Linked DNA regions of Homo sapiens: regions 2 and 3 are each linked to region 1. The links are contacts of gene promoters, found by promoter capture Hi-C in blood cells and fetal thymus (Javierre and others, 2016). All regions are on one chromosome and are shown on one strand. Each heading gives the region's core, a stretch centred on a gene start or on the middle of the fragment in contact. The rest is flanking DNA. Distances are from core to core; before and after follow the strand shown.

Evidence for each region. The method cuts DNA at HindIII sites, captures the fragments that hold promoters and counts their contacts. A CHiCAGO score of 5 or more calls a contact.
Region 2: a contact is called between the fragment with the promoter of FGFR1OP2 here and the fragment with the promoter of ETNK1 in region 1, in 1 of 17 cell types (total B cells). The highest score is 5.1, in total B cells.
Region 3: a fragment that was not itself captured here is called in contact with the fragment with the promoter of ETNK1 in region 1 in 2 of 17 cell types (naive CD8 T cells and total CD8 T cells); the score reaches 13.6 in naive CD8 T cells.

Annotation. Positions count from the first base shown.
Region 1 is chr12:22,622,817-22,626,932 of GRCh38, reverse strand. It overlaps ETNK1 (ethanolamine kinase 1), which reads right to left and starts at 1,762. Exons shown (of 8, transcript NM_018638.5): 1 at 1,347-1,762. The coding sequence starts at 1,502. ETNK1-DT (ETNK1 divergent transcript) reads left to right here and starts at 1,887. Exons shown (of 4, transcript NR_135030.1): 1 at 1,887-2,260. RefSeq lists enhancers at 639-1,328, 1,348-1,517, 2,048-2,117. The HindIII fragment of the contact is 2,136 bases long and covers 1-1,997 here.
Region 2 is chr12:26,936,811-26,940,926 of GRCh38, reverse strand. FGFR1OP2 (FGFR1 oncogene partner 2) reads right to left here and starts at 2,457. Exons shown (of 7, transcript NM_015633.3): 1 at 2,217-2,457. It overlaps INTS13 (integrator complex subunit 13), which reads left to right and starts at 2,946. Exons shown (of 17, transcript NM_018164.3): 1 at 2,946-3,131; 2 at 4,113-4,116. RefSeq lists a silencer at 2,024-2,093 and enhancers at 1,623-2,131, 2,354-2,403, 2,132-2,641. The HindIII fragment of the contact is 20,390 bases long and covers 1-4,116 here.
Region 3 is chr12:19,436,727-19,440,842 of GRCh38, reverse strand. AEBP2 (AE binding protein 2) reads right to left here and starts at 1,351. Exons shown (of 8, transcript NM_153207.5): 1 at 473-1,351. The coding sequence starts at 1,143. RefSeq lists enhancers at 94-183, 214-263 and silencers at 914-1,013, 1,024-1,173, 1,234-1,483. The HindIII fragment of the contact is 5,437 bases long and covers 1-4,116 here.

The sequences.
Region 1 (4,116 bases), core at 513-3,012:
TATATAATAAAATACAAACAAATTGATAAACTAAACAAGTACTGAATTTCAATTTGGAAGACACATTTCCTTTAAAGGAAATATATTTTTTAAATGACATAAAAATCACTTTGGATTCACTATTTCCTATATTCTCGGCTAACAAATACTCCCTTAAATTTCAAAATTTGTTGTCTAACAAGTTTCTTCTCCAAAACATACGGGTCCTTTAAAATAATCTGCTTAAAAACTCTTCTAGGTAATAAGAACTGAAACTAACACATGAAAACCCAAGTGTCAGGAACTGTTCTGGGCCCTAGGCACTGCTCATGTTTTATTCATCTTTGTGTGGGTGGCTGGCTAGTTTAGCGAAGAATTTAGCAAATAAATCAACAAATATTGGTGAATAAATTAGTCATCAAAACGAGGCAGATGATTTGGCTAATTCAAATGAATGTTCTTACATTATTGCTCAGATTTAGAACAAATCCCAAATATCCCAATCTTGAAAATTACTGTTTTTTTTTGTTTGCAAGGGAAAAGGAGAAAAAGAGATCTATTTTTGTATCTAGTTCCTGAAACTAAAGCTAAAAACAGATTAGTATTCAAAAAAAATCACGTAGTGGAAATCATAACTTCCAACTTATTAGAAAACTCCTAGAGTCTCAGGGATTTTTTTCCTCCCAATTTTTTCTCTATCAACACGGTGTCTCATGAAAAGGAAACAGTCACAAGCCACTGCTCCTTCTAGTATCAGGTATTAATTTCAGTAAGACGACTTTAATAATTCAGAAATATCGACTCAAACAAAACAATGTGTGTGGTGCTGCCTAAGAACCGACCTAGCGATGCATGGTCGTGGTCATTACTTTGGGAATTGAGTACGCTAGGGTTTGGGAAGACAAAACGCAGTGTGAGGCATCAATGAAAGCACATCGCAGGGGGAGGGGAGAGGAAGGAAAGATCAGAGAGGATTAATGACTGCATTACTGGTGGGAGGGGAGGAGGTAGACGAGGACCCCGTGCAAGGGGAGTGGAAAGGTTCATTTTGCAGTGACCGTGGACTGGGGAGTGGGAGGAGGGGCAACTATCAGCAGGAATCTCCCCCCGTGGATGGGTCCGTCACTTACGCAGCGGCTTCTAGAAAGAGAAAATGTGCCTCAGGTCAATCTCAAAGAGCAACTGCGACGGGAAGGGGGAGTGACCCTCCTAGGTGTGAGGGGAAATACAGGGTCACTTCCCAATAGACTTAAGGAGATGTTGCCCTAGGTCCTCCTCGGTCATCGTGGGACAGAGGCGATTGTGGTGAGGACCCCCAGAGCCGCGTGAGGGGCATAAGAGACCCAGAGCTGAGGTGTGGGCGTTACCTGCAGGGTCACCTCCTGGGGGTCCCAGTGAGGCCGCAGGTGTTGCAGGAGGCTCAGGGCCCCCTCCCGGCAGCGATGCTCCTCCTGATCCTGAACGGTGACGTTCAGCTTGGGCACCTCCGGGGAGCCGGGAGGGACGTGGATGTAATTGGCCATGGCCCAGGCGACGGCGGAGACTACCACCACGACGACGGCGACGGCGACCACGAGAACGGCGGGCGCCGACAGACTGGTGGATCCTTCCGTCCCGGGGCGCCCTCGCGGGAGGGCTGGGGGCGCTGGGACGGGCGGGCGAGCGGCAGGAGAACGTCTGGAGGCGGCACTGTTGCCGATCCGGGTCTGGACAGCAGCTGAACTGAGCCCGGCCCGCTCTCGGAGAAAATTCCTGTTGTCGGAGCTGGACCGCGGGCGGCCGCAGAGCATGCCGGGGCTGGCCTGACGCTGGCGTCACGCGCGGGGCGGGTCCTGCGCTGCGTCAGGGTGCCGAGGCGGGGTTTCTCGCCTCCGGTCACAATGGGACCTCTGTACCGCGCTGGGCTTGTTGGCCTGCGATTAGCACACACCCATCCCTGGGAACTGCTAGTCTGGAAAGCGGGGCTGCTTCTCCGGGATGAGCCCGAGCCCTGCCAAGCCCCTCAAGGCATTGAAGCTTTAGCTCACCTTATCCGAATGGTCATTGGGCATCTGGACTTGAGTTAACGACTGAATTTTTCTGGGAAGCAAGGGACACGTTCTAAAATAACCCCAGGATCACTCTCCGAACTTGGCCTGAGTCTAGGCAAGCAGTGTTACTCGGTCGCCTTGATCTTGGAGCTGCTGTGTACTGGGGACCTCATACTAGTTGGGTTAACTATATTCCCATTAGCAGTACGCGGGATCGCAGTACTCGGGACAAGCTGAGTTCAGGTATTTGGGTAAGACAACTGCAACACTTCAGAGGTTATTTGTGGAGTAAGATGTTCGACCATACAGTGAATAATTCGAAGCTAGGGAGAACAGATTAGAGTCTGGTATGAAGAAGAAAGGGAAGGAAAGGAATAGTTTTGAAGCTCAGCGCTAGAACGACTCGATGTCCATGCCAGGGTACCCCGAGTGGGCCTTGAAATCTTGCGTCTCAGTGCCTTACAGGGAATGGTAGAAACTGGAAAATCTACAAGTAAAGTATTGGGACCTCCTAATTTTCCTTTTAGATGGAGGAAAACGGGCTGGGATTCCCTGCAGCACTTAGCACACGGTGAATACGTTTGTTAGTAGTAAATAAAACCCTTAACTGGACTGAGTTTAATTAACATTCAAAATGTTTAATTACTTCACTAGCATTAAGTTTACATCCTGATTGTTCAGAAAGAACCTACTTACCTTTGTAATTAACAAAATAATTACTTCACCGATAACGGTAAACTTCCTAAACTAAAAAGAGGGGTGGAAATGGAGCTTTATAATACAGCAAAGAAGTTGATTTAACATTTTTCAAATTTAGTGGTTTTTTTGTTTGTTTTTTGTTTCTGTTTTTTTTTGTTTTGTTTTTGAGACGGAGCCTCACTCTGTCGCCCAGGCTGGAGTGCAATGGCGCGATCTTGGCCCACTGCAACCTCCGCCTCCCGGGTTTAAGGGATTCTCCTGCTTCAGCCTCTCGAGTAGCTGGGATTACCGGCGCGTGCCACCACGCCCAGCAAATTTTTGTATCTTTAGTAGAGATGGGTTTCACCATGTTGGCCAGGCTGGTCTCGAACTCCTGACCTCAGGTGATCCACCCACCTCGGCCTCGCAAAGTGCTGGGATTACAGGCGTGAGCCACCGCGCCCTGCCAGATTTAGGCATAATTTTCTACAAGAAACATTAGAGTGTGTGTTCCTTCCACTTTGGGGAGAAATCATAAATATACTACTACTTTCACATTTCAGATAGTATCTCTTGTATTTTTGTATAAATTGTATTTTTTATTAAGCAGTTGACATTTTAAGAATTTTAAAACTATGTAACTGTAAAACAATTTAATTGAAAATTATGTTGCAAACTGCACTAGTTTGTAATGGTAAATAAGAGTCCATTAACAAGTAGAAGAAAAGAAAAAAAAACTATTAGGTACCTGAGAACAAAAGTAACCGAAAATGTACAGGATCCATGGATAAAATTAATGGAGAAATGAACCATATTCATAAATGAGAAAAGATTAATGTAAAGGCCTCAATTTTCCCTGAACTAATCAGTACATATAATGCAATTCCAGTTAAAATCTCAAAAGGGTTTTTTTACTGAACTTGTTAAAATGACATTGAAATTCATATCAAAACTTAAGGTCCAAGAAAAGCGCTGTAATTGGGGAGAGGAGGATAGGGACAGGTAAGATCAGGGAATATATTGGGAGGACCAACCCTACCAGGATGTATTATATATTGGTTTAGGTATGGGCAAATAAACTACTAGAACATAATAAAGTCCCAGAACAAAACCTACACACATATGAGAACTTTGTATATAACAAAAGTAGCATTAAAAATTAGTGAGAAAGTCCAGACTGATCAATGAACCGTAGTGATACAATTGCTTTTTGTATGAGAAAAAAATTTTGATCCCTCCCTCTTATTATGCATAAAAATTAATTTGGGGAAGATTAGAAACCTAAATGTTAAAAGCAAAACTTTAAAAATGTGCAAGAAATATCAGTTCTTATCAACCTGATCTACTGATTCAATTCTAATCACCTCAAGTTATGTTGTGGATATCAGCAAACCAGTTCTAATGTTTACATGCAAAGCCACAAGAGCCA
Region 2 (4,116 bases), core at 1,208-3,707, 4.3 Mb before region 1:
AATTTAAGGAAATTCAAGTCAAAATTTTCAAGCCAACCTCAGAAAATAAATAGGAATATAAATGAAATGTAAGAGAAATTAAAGACGAAAAAAATTTCAAATATTTTCTAGGTAATTAATAAAAGCCTAGCAACCATTTTAATTAGGCATCACATTAATTGTAAGATCAATGAATGTTTACTGATTGGACACTTCTGTTTCCCTTATCTGCAAATCCACTACTCCTACCACTACATCTACACAGAAATATTGTGGCTACTGATACACCACAGATCTGTCTTTAAATGTCAACAATCTAGTTTAAATTTTTTCATGTTCAGGTATGTGTCTCTAATATTAATTAGTACATAATATGAACTGACCCATATGGAAATAAAAAAACCAAAAGGTATAGTTATGGTTTTCATATAAACTTATAATCTTATGAATGCAAGAAAGAACGCATATAAATTACATATAAAAATAAGCATTTATAAAGGCACATCGCTGTATGTGAAAGCAAAGAAAATTTTCACTGTCCTTGAAAATAGTGGAATGAATACATGTTTGGAACTGTATAAAGACACTTTCTGAAGAAAATTAATTTTTAAACTTGGAAGAAAGATTTTGGAAGTAATGACACTGGAGGATTTTTTTAAAATTACACGTTCCCTTAGAATTGTGGCTGAATATAAGTTTCACATACATATGTTCAAAGAGTTGTGACAGTTCAAGAAGGAACTAACCTAATCTAAACCAGTTATTTCTAACCTACAGGCTAAGGAGTCAGTAGAAGAGTTGCCTGAATGCACATACTCCAAGCACTGTCTGTAGTCTAAAACATTTCTGCTCCATTTCTCAAATATAAATAGATACTGTAAAAATAAAATACAAAATCATTTAAAAGCATAGTAGTTTTCTGTCATTATACATAATTTCAACCAACAATTACTAAAAGTCCAATTGCATGTGTATTAGAAGTACAGGGTTTCTCATAATCAAAATAGGTCGGGACCTTTAAGCTAATGTACAGAGTTCCTTCTGGCCCAAAATTCTATGATTTTAAAGGATGAAGAACTCTTACGGTGAATTCCTTAGAACTATTCCATTTCAATAAACATACATATGTATATATAAATAATGCTTGCTATGTGCCAAGTACTGGACTTTTTCTCAGAGATGAGTAAGACATGATTCCAGACAGACCCAGGTTCAAATTGGCAGGAGAGACAGAAACAAATAATACAACCTAATAAATACTGCAGAAGAAAAGTTTCAAATGCGTTGGGAGCACAGCGGTATCAATGTCACCTGGGGGAGTCTGAGAAGACAATGATTTATGAATTGGGTTTTGACAGGTGGTAAAATAGAGGAACAGTAAACATCCTAGACATCCGCACGTACAAAAGTACAGAGCTGTCAAAGCGCATGGCATGTTTGGGGAAATAGCCAGTATAGTCTTGTATGGTAGGATATTAAAGCAGGACTAAAAGGTAAAATGGATTGGGGCAGACTGTAAAAGATCCTGAATGATGATGTGCTTAACAATTAGGATTTGATGCTGTCAGCAATACGGTTACTAAAAAGTTTAAGGAAAGGACAGAGATAAATATGTATTTCAGAATAACTCTATGGAAGGATTATAGTAGGGAAACCAGTGGAGGGCGGGGGGCAGAGGGGGCAACCGCACTAATTCTGGCGAAAAAAAAAATAATACAGTGCAGTGTTAAGTGGAAATGAAGAACCAATGATGATTCCTGGTTTTCTAGTTCGGATAGCAGGACAGATACTGGAACCATTATCAGAGATGGGATAGAGAAGAAAGGCAGGAAGAGAACCAGAAAAGAGTAATACCCCTTGGAGAGCAGTTTCAAGAAACAAGTTATCTTCATTAAACGCTGCAAACAGGTGACTGAAAGGGTCCCCCGTCCGGTGGTGAACTCGCAGGTGGGTAAGGCAGGATGAAAGCAGATACGGAAGGTGTGTCCACAGGGTTAGAGCCAAGGCTTTTCATTGAACTTTCCGCACCGCATCTCCATTAAGAGGAGCTCGGAGTCGGGGGGCGCGGAGAGGAAGTCCGGCTCCCAGGAGCAGGGAGCCCGCGGCGGGAAGCGGACAGGGCCGGGCGCCGGTGGTTCAAGAGGCGCAAGGCACCGGCCCCGGCGAAGGACTGCCCCGGCAAAGGACGCCTCCGACTCGCCCACCCCTGCTCCCGTCCCTGGATTTAGTCCACTTACTCTGCTCTTAGTCCCTCGCAGCCTTCAGCTGTGGCGATGCGGACTCAAACCCTCTACCAACCGGGACCTATGCACTCAAGGGAAGAGACTCCGCGCCCCCCTAATCCGCCTCCTCAGCAAGCAGACGCAGAATCGGACGGAGGCAGCGGACGGAAGGCCGGGAAGCCAGTGGCGTTCAACGCCATCACCGGCGGGGTAGACACCTCCGCCGACCGCCTCCGACCGGCGCTCCCGGAGAACTCCAGCCTCGCGAGATTTCTTTCCTCGCGTTACTGTGGGGCAGAACCGACCACTCTCCGCTTTGCCCCAGAAGGCAGGGCGGGGCCCTTCTATGTCCCTCCCTATTCCTCCCTTCCCAGGCTTTCGCTCGGCCTCTCGCAAAGTCTCGCGAGTTTTTCCAGGGGAAACCGGCCTGGGTGGAGAGACAGAGAAGGGGAGACCGGGTGGGTGGGTCGTACGCTTAGGGGGCCGTGGTTGGTACTTCGCTGTTGGGGAGGCTTTCAGGTCGCCCAGATCCTGCTTCCCAATGGGTGACTGGGAAAATTAGCGGGTGGAAAATCTCGAGGGGTGGAGGCTTTTTTTTTCCTCCTTGGCCCCGCCCTCTTCCTGTTCGGCGACTGGGACGCCTGGCCCTACGAGGGGGAAGGGAGGCTTGGCCGGGCTATCGGAGAGCGCTGTGCGCACGCGCGAGCCCGAGTGCGTGTGTGTGTGTGCACGCGCACGCGCGCTCCTGCTCTTAGGAAGCCTGGGAAGGACCGGTGTGCTAGGAGATGATCGGGGAAAGCATAGTCCCCTGTCTGTGGCACCAGACACTCCCGACTGTGCGCTGACTCTCCCCGCCCAGCCAGCAGCCTTTTCCAGAGAGGCTGTGGTCCATAGCCTCTGTTCGTTTTCACTGCAGGACCAGGCACGAAAGTAAGCGAACCTCGATCCTGAGGTCTTCCCTATCCACTCACCTTGTATTTTCCACCCCCCACCCTCCAGCAAAGTGGGTCTAGAAGGTTTCTCAAAGAGAGTTTTGCATGAAGGGGAGATGCGTCTTGAAAGCAAGAGGTGAAAATAGCTGGATCGTAAGAAATCAGTTCGTTTTGATTTAACACTTTGGCTTTGCTTGCCATGTGCTTTTCGAATGTGGATTGTCTATTCAGTATAAGATTTTGTTAGCGAAGCAGGGGAGTACCGTATGCTCTGTTTTAATAAGAAAAAGTTTTAAAAGTTTTAAATTTCCTTCTACACACCAGTGTGATGGTAACAACTAAGTTTTTCTGCTCTACCTGGTAAATTACTGTGATGTTTCAAAAGCTAAGGGGAGAGTGTGAAGTTGGGGTCCTTATCCTAAGGCGAAGACCTGATGTGCGGTTATCTTAGGAGATGTTTATCTTTGTTTTGGCCTTTTCTTTTGCTGTCACTCCTCTTTCCTGTTAATTCCGCACCCCTACCCGCCAGTCCCCCTTCAAACGTTTTTCTTGGAGGGAAGTGCAAAAATGCTGGCTTGGGGTTTATATGTGACTAATGTCAATTAGCAAGGATCATAAAGTTGTATTTCAAGAGTCTTTGTCACTTATGTTTCGTATATGTAAGGGAATCAAATACAATTAAATGTCAAAATGTTTCCCTCTGACAATTTTAAGTTCATTTTAAAAGCAAAACCAAAAATGCATGCACTGGTATTTTTGTCTGGGCCTGGTAGAGTGACAGCCTAATATGGTGTATTGATACCCTTGCTTTCTGGTCATGACCTCATTAAACTGTCCTTTGTCGGACAGATTTCTTTGAACATATTATTCATGTTCCCTACCAAGTCTTCTTGAGGGAAAGACAATCTTCTTGAGAAAATTAGAAAAAATGTAAGATGTTATGTACAAATATTTGGCTAATATGTTTTTCCCCTTACAGGTTA
Region 3 (4,116 bases), core at 1,083-3,582, 3.2 Mb after region 1:
GTCTCTCCCATGGACAAGGAAGTTCTGTTAAATCCAGGCGAGACCAGCCATATTGGAAACACTTGTCAATTGTAGTTCTGACAAGTGTTCCCGAACACGGTTGGAAGAAGCTAACCTTGAGTACCGACGTGTGTACATCAAGGCCCTCTTCTGCTCCGCCAGAGGATCTGGGCCCGTTTGGGGACTGTTTCCGAGTTAGAGCCGTCCTGAGGTCCGTGAGGAGCGAAGCGCCGAGGGGAAAGAGGGCGGGGAAAGGAGAGTTGGGGGGGAACGGTTTGAGAGTTGGAAGCCGCGATGCGCTGCGAGAGGGGCGCGGCGGCGACGGCGAGAGATTTCCGAGTTGAGAGTCTGGGGGAGGGGCCGAGGATTCGGGGAGCAGGGGGATCGCGGCAAAACGTCGCCTTGGTCCCCCTCTGAGGGGCCCGGGAGTTCAAGAGGAGGAAGGGAAGGGGAAACGCTTCAGAGCACTGACCTGTCCTCCGAGTCCATGCGGCTCAGGGGTTCCCCATCCGACGACATCTCCAAGCTGCCCCGCCGGCCCCCGGAGGTCGCGCTGCTTCCGCCTCCCCCAGTCCCGTAGCCCTCGTCGCCGCCGCTGGAGACTACGCTGCTGCTACTGCTGCCGCCCCCGCCGCCGCCCTGGCTGCCCCGCGGTCCCTTGGGCTCCTCCAGGCCCTCCTTGCCGTCCCCATCCCCGCTGCTGCTGCTGGCGGCGCCGGGGCTCAACGAGCGGGTCTCGTCGCTGCTGCTCCCGCCGCTGCTGCCCACCAGGCTCTCGGCGCTACTCTCCTCCTCACCCCCGCCGCTGCTGCTGCTCTCATCTTCCTCCTCCTCGTCGTCCTCCTCCTCGTCTTCGTCCTCCCCGGCCTGGCTGGCGCTCTCGGGGCTCGGCTCCGACATCGTCTCTGCCTCGCCGCCCCCCACTCCTCCGCCGCCGCCTCCGCCGCCCCCACCGCTGCCGCCGTTCAGCAGCAGCGCCGCCACCGCCTCGGCCTCCGCCTCCTCTTCCTCCTCCTCCTCTTCCTCCTCCTCCTCGGGGGGCTCAGCCCGGCCCCGCGCCGCCGAACCCGGGCTGCCGGGGGGCAGAGGGCTCAGGCGGGAGAGCTCCTCCAGGTCGGCCATGTCGGTGATAGCGGCGGCCATGGCGGCGCCTGCTCCTCCTCCTCCTCCTCCTCCCCACCGCCGCCTCCCTCTCTCGACTCTCTCTCCCTCGCCCCCCTCCCAAACGCCCAAAACTCCGCCGACGCCGCTGCAGAGCAGGAGGAGGGCCCGCGAGCTGCGTCAGCCTGCACACGCGCTACGGAGCCCGCGCGGGGACAGGCGCGCGACTACGCGCACTCACACGGAGACTGCTGCGCGCCTGCGCGGCGGCACGAGGCAGCACCTCCCCCGGCTGCGGGTTCTGCGCCCCCGCCCCCGCCCGGCGCCCGCCCCGCTGCCCAGTGCCCGCCCCCGCCCCCGCCCCGGCGCCTGCAAGTGCTCAGCGTTTCCTCGGGGCCTTCCCACGCCCTGCCGGGCTTCGAAGCCCAGGGACACGCGGACTGAAAACTCCAACGCTGGCCGGGGATTTTAGCAGCCTTCCGAGTTCTCACGATAAACTCATTCATTCCGGGGGTGTTTGAGGAGTGTCCCCTCTGTACAGGAGCTGAGCCAGGAATAGAACGAGCCTACAGTCTACGAAGAGAGCGGTTTAAAATGGGCAAAAATTAAAACACTACGGTGTAAGGTACTAAATTTTTATGCGCAACACAGGGCGACAGGTTTTAATACACCCTATGTTTGAATACCCCTGGAGATGTTGACATCCTGAACCCAGAGCAAACATCTTGGTTCAGGGTCCTCAAACTTTTTACTTCATGAGCCTTCTAAAACAATTTCGTAAAGCTGTGTATGTTCTTATACAGTTTAGAATGACAGCTACATTTTTCCGGCTTATAAATATTTCATCTGTCGCATTGTTTAAATACTGTATAGCCAATGGATTCTAAATACCATAGGGATTTAACACCCACTAATATCCATTTTTTTAAAATACAGTTTGGAAAATACAATTTCCAAATATTGTTTTCTGGAACTCATATTGACGTTGCATATCTCCTCTAGAATTTTATCCTAGTAATATATTTTATATTTGAACTATTTTGATCGTCTTACTTGTAATAAAAATGTGAACATAAATTGAAGTATCTGGGTTGTTTTTTATATTTTCTGTGATCATAAAGCTCTTATTTCAACCGATCAAAACAAATCTATTTCAAATGTTTGTAAGTACTAAACACAAAAGCAAAATTTTATTGGCAATGCATCTTGCAGAAATGAACTTGGGTGGACTTTTTTCTAATATACATTATGACCTTCAGTGGATGGATTTTTTTGAGAAATAGTTCAGCATCAGTTCTATTCCAAGTTTTCAATTCCATGGATATAAGTGTTGAGAAAACTTGTTCGCATAAAAAAAGCAGATGAGAATGAATGGAGTTTTGTTATAGTAATGCCACACAATTCTTTGAATGCCTTTCGCATTATATGCCCAAAAATCGCATAAAGATCTAACAAAGAAAAAATACTTTTAATGATCTGTCAGCTGACAACTCTGATTAGGTTCTCTTTCAACTTGTTGAAAGCAAGCAACTGAAAACCACCTGACTTGTGAAAGGATGTGTTACCCCATTCTTATTCACCAGTCAATTGTGCCTTTCTTTGGTGTCCTGGAGGTTTTTGCATAACCGGGTATTGCACCTTACTAAGATTTAGCATGAGGAAGAATTATGCCTTTCTTTTGTAAAGTAGGGAAGAGGTCATTGGAAGAAAGGAGACTGGAAAAGAGCCCACATTACACCCTGACCCAAGGACACATTTTCAGGCCAATTTTAGGGATGCTTCTACTCAAGGAAAATGAGGATAGAACTGACTGCCTGAAAACAGAGCCTCCATGCTCATTTCCCATTTGGGAAAGTCGTCATATACCGTGAGTACCCAGTATTACATCCTCTGCCTTAGGCCTTTGGACAACTGTTATATAAAATGTTGCCTCTAAGGGAATGCAAAAATAATAACATGGGACATCATTTACAGATACCTTCAGAGGCACATACAATGTAAGGTATTAACTTCCAACATTTTAAACCTCAAAGGCAATCTTAGATAAGGAATGTATTAAAGTGAAATACACTGTAAACTGTAAATTAAAAACTATCAGAAGGCCGGCAGGGTGGCTTATACCTGTAATCCCAGCACTTTGGGAGGCCAAAGTAGGAGGCTCACTTGAGCCCAGGAGTTTGAGACCAGCCTGGGTAAAATAGCGAGACCCTGTCTCTACGGCACACCTGTAGTCCCAGCTACTCAGGAGGCTGAAGTGGGAGGTTCACTTGAGCCCTGGAGGTTGAGGCTGCAGTGAGCCATGATCATGCCACTGCACTCCATACCTTTCCTCACCCATCATAAGGGTCATGGCCAACACTTCTACAACAAAAGACAGGTTAACAAGAGAAAAGTGTAACAAATTAATTTAATGGAAGTCTTATGTGACACAGGAGCCTTCAGAAGTAAAGACCCAGAGAAAGCTGTCCATTTGTATGCCTAGATTCAACAGAGTGGACATCCATGTAGAAATGTGATTGTACAAAAAGAGAATGAACTAATAGTAATAGACTGAGTGTGGAAACCCAGCAAGGCCTGTCCAGATTCGTCTTGACCTCTCTGTGTAGCATTCCTTCCACACCCAGGTATAGAGCAGACTTCTCTGGAATGAGAGTCTTCAAATGAGAAGGCAGAGAGTGACCTTTCTTCGTTTCATGGCTTACTTTGTGGGGAAAGGAGTTCTGGTTTATATGACTAGCCTAGGGTGAGTAACAGGGATAGGAGACAGCAGGACAGAGGTTCAGTGAGAGACTTTGCTTCTCAGGCTTTCCAATCTCCTTTAGTTCAAAGTACTCAGCATGGGGGCCAGGTGCAGTGGCTCACTCTTGTAATCCCAGCACTTTGGGAAACTGAAGCAGGGGGATCACTTGAGCCCAGGAGTTCGAGACCAGCCTGAGCAATGGGATGAAACTCCATCGCTACAAAACACTTTTTTTTGTTGTTAACTAGCCAGGTGTGGTGGTGTGCACCTGTAGT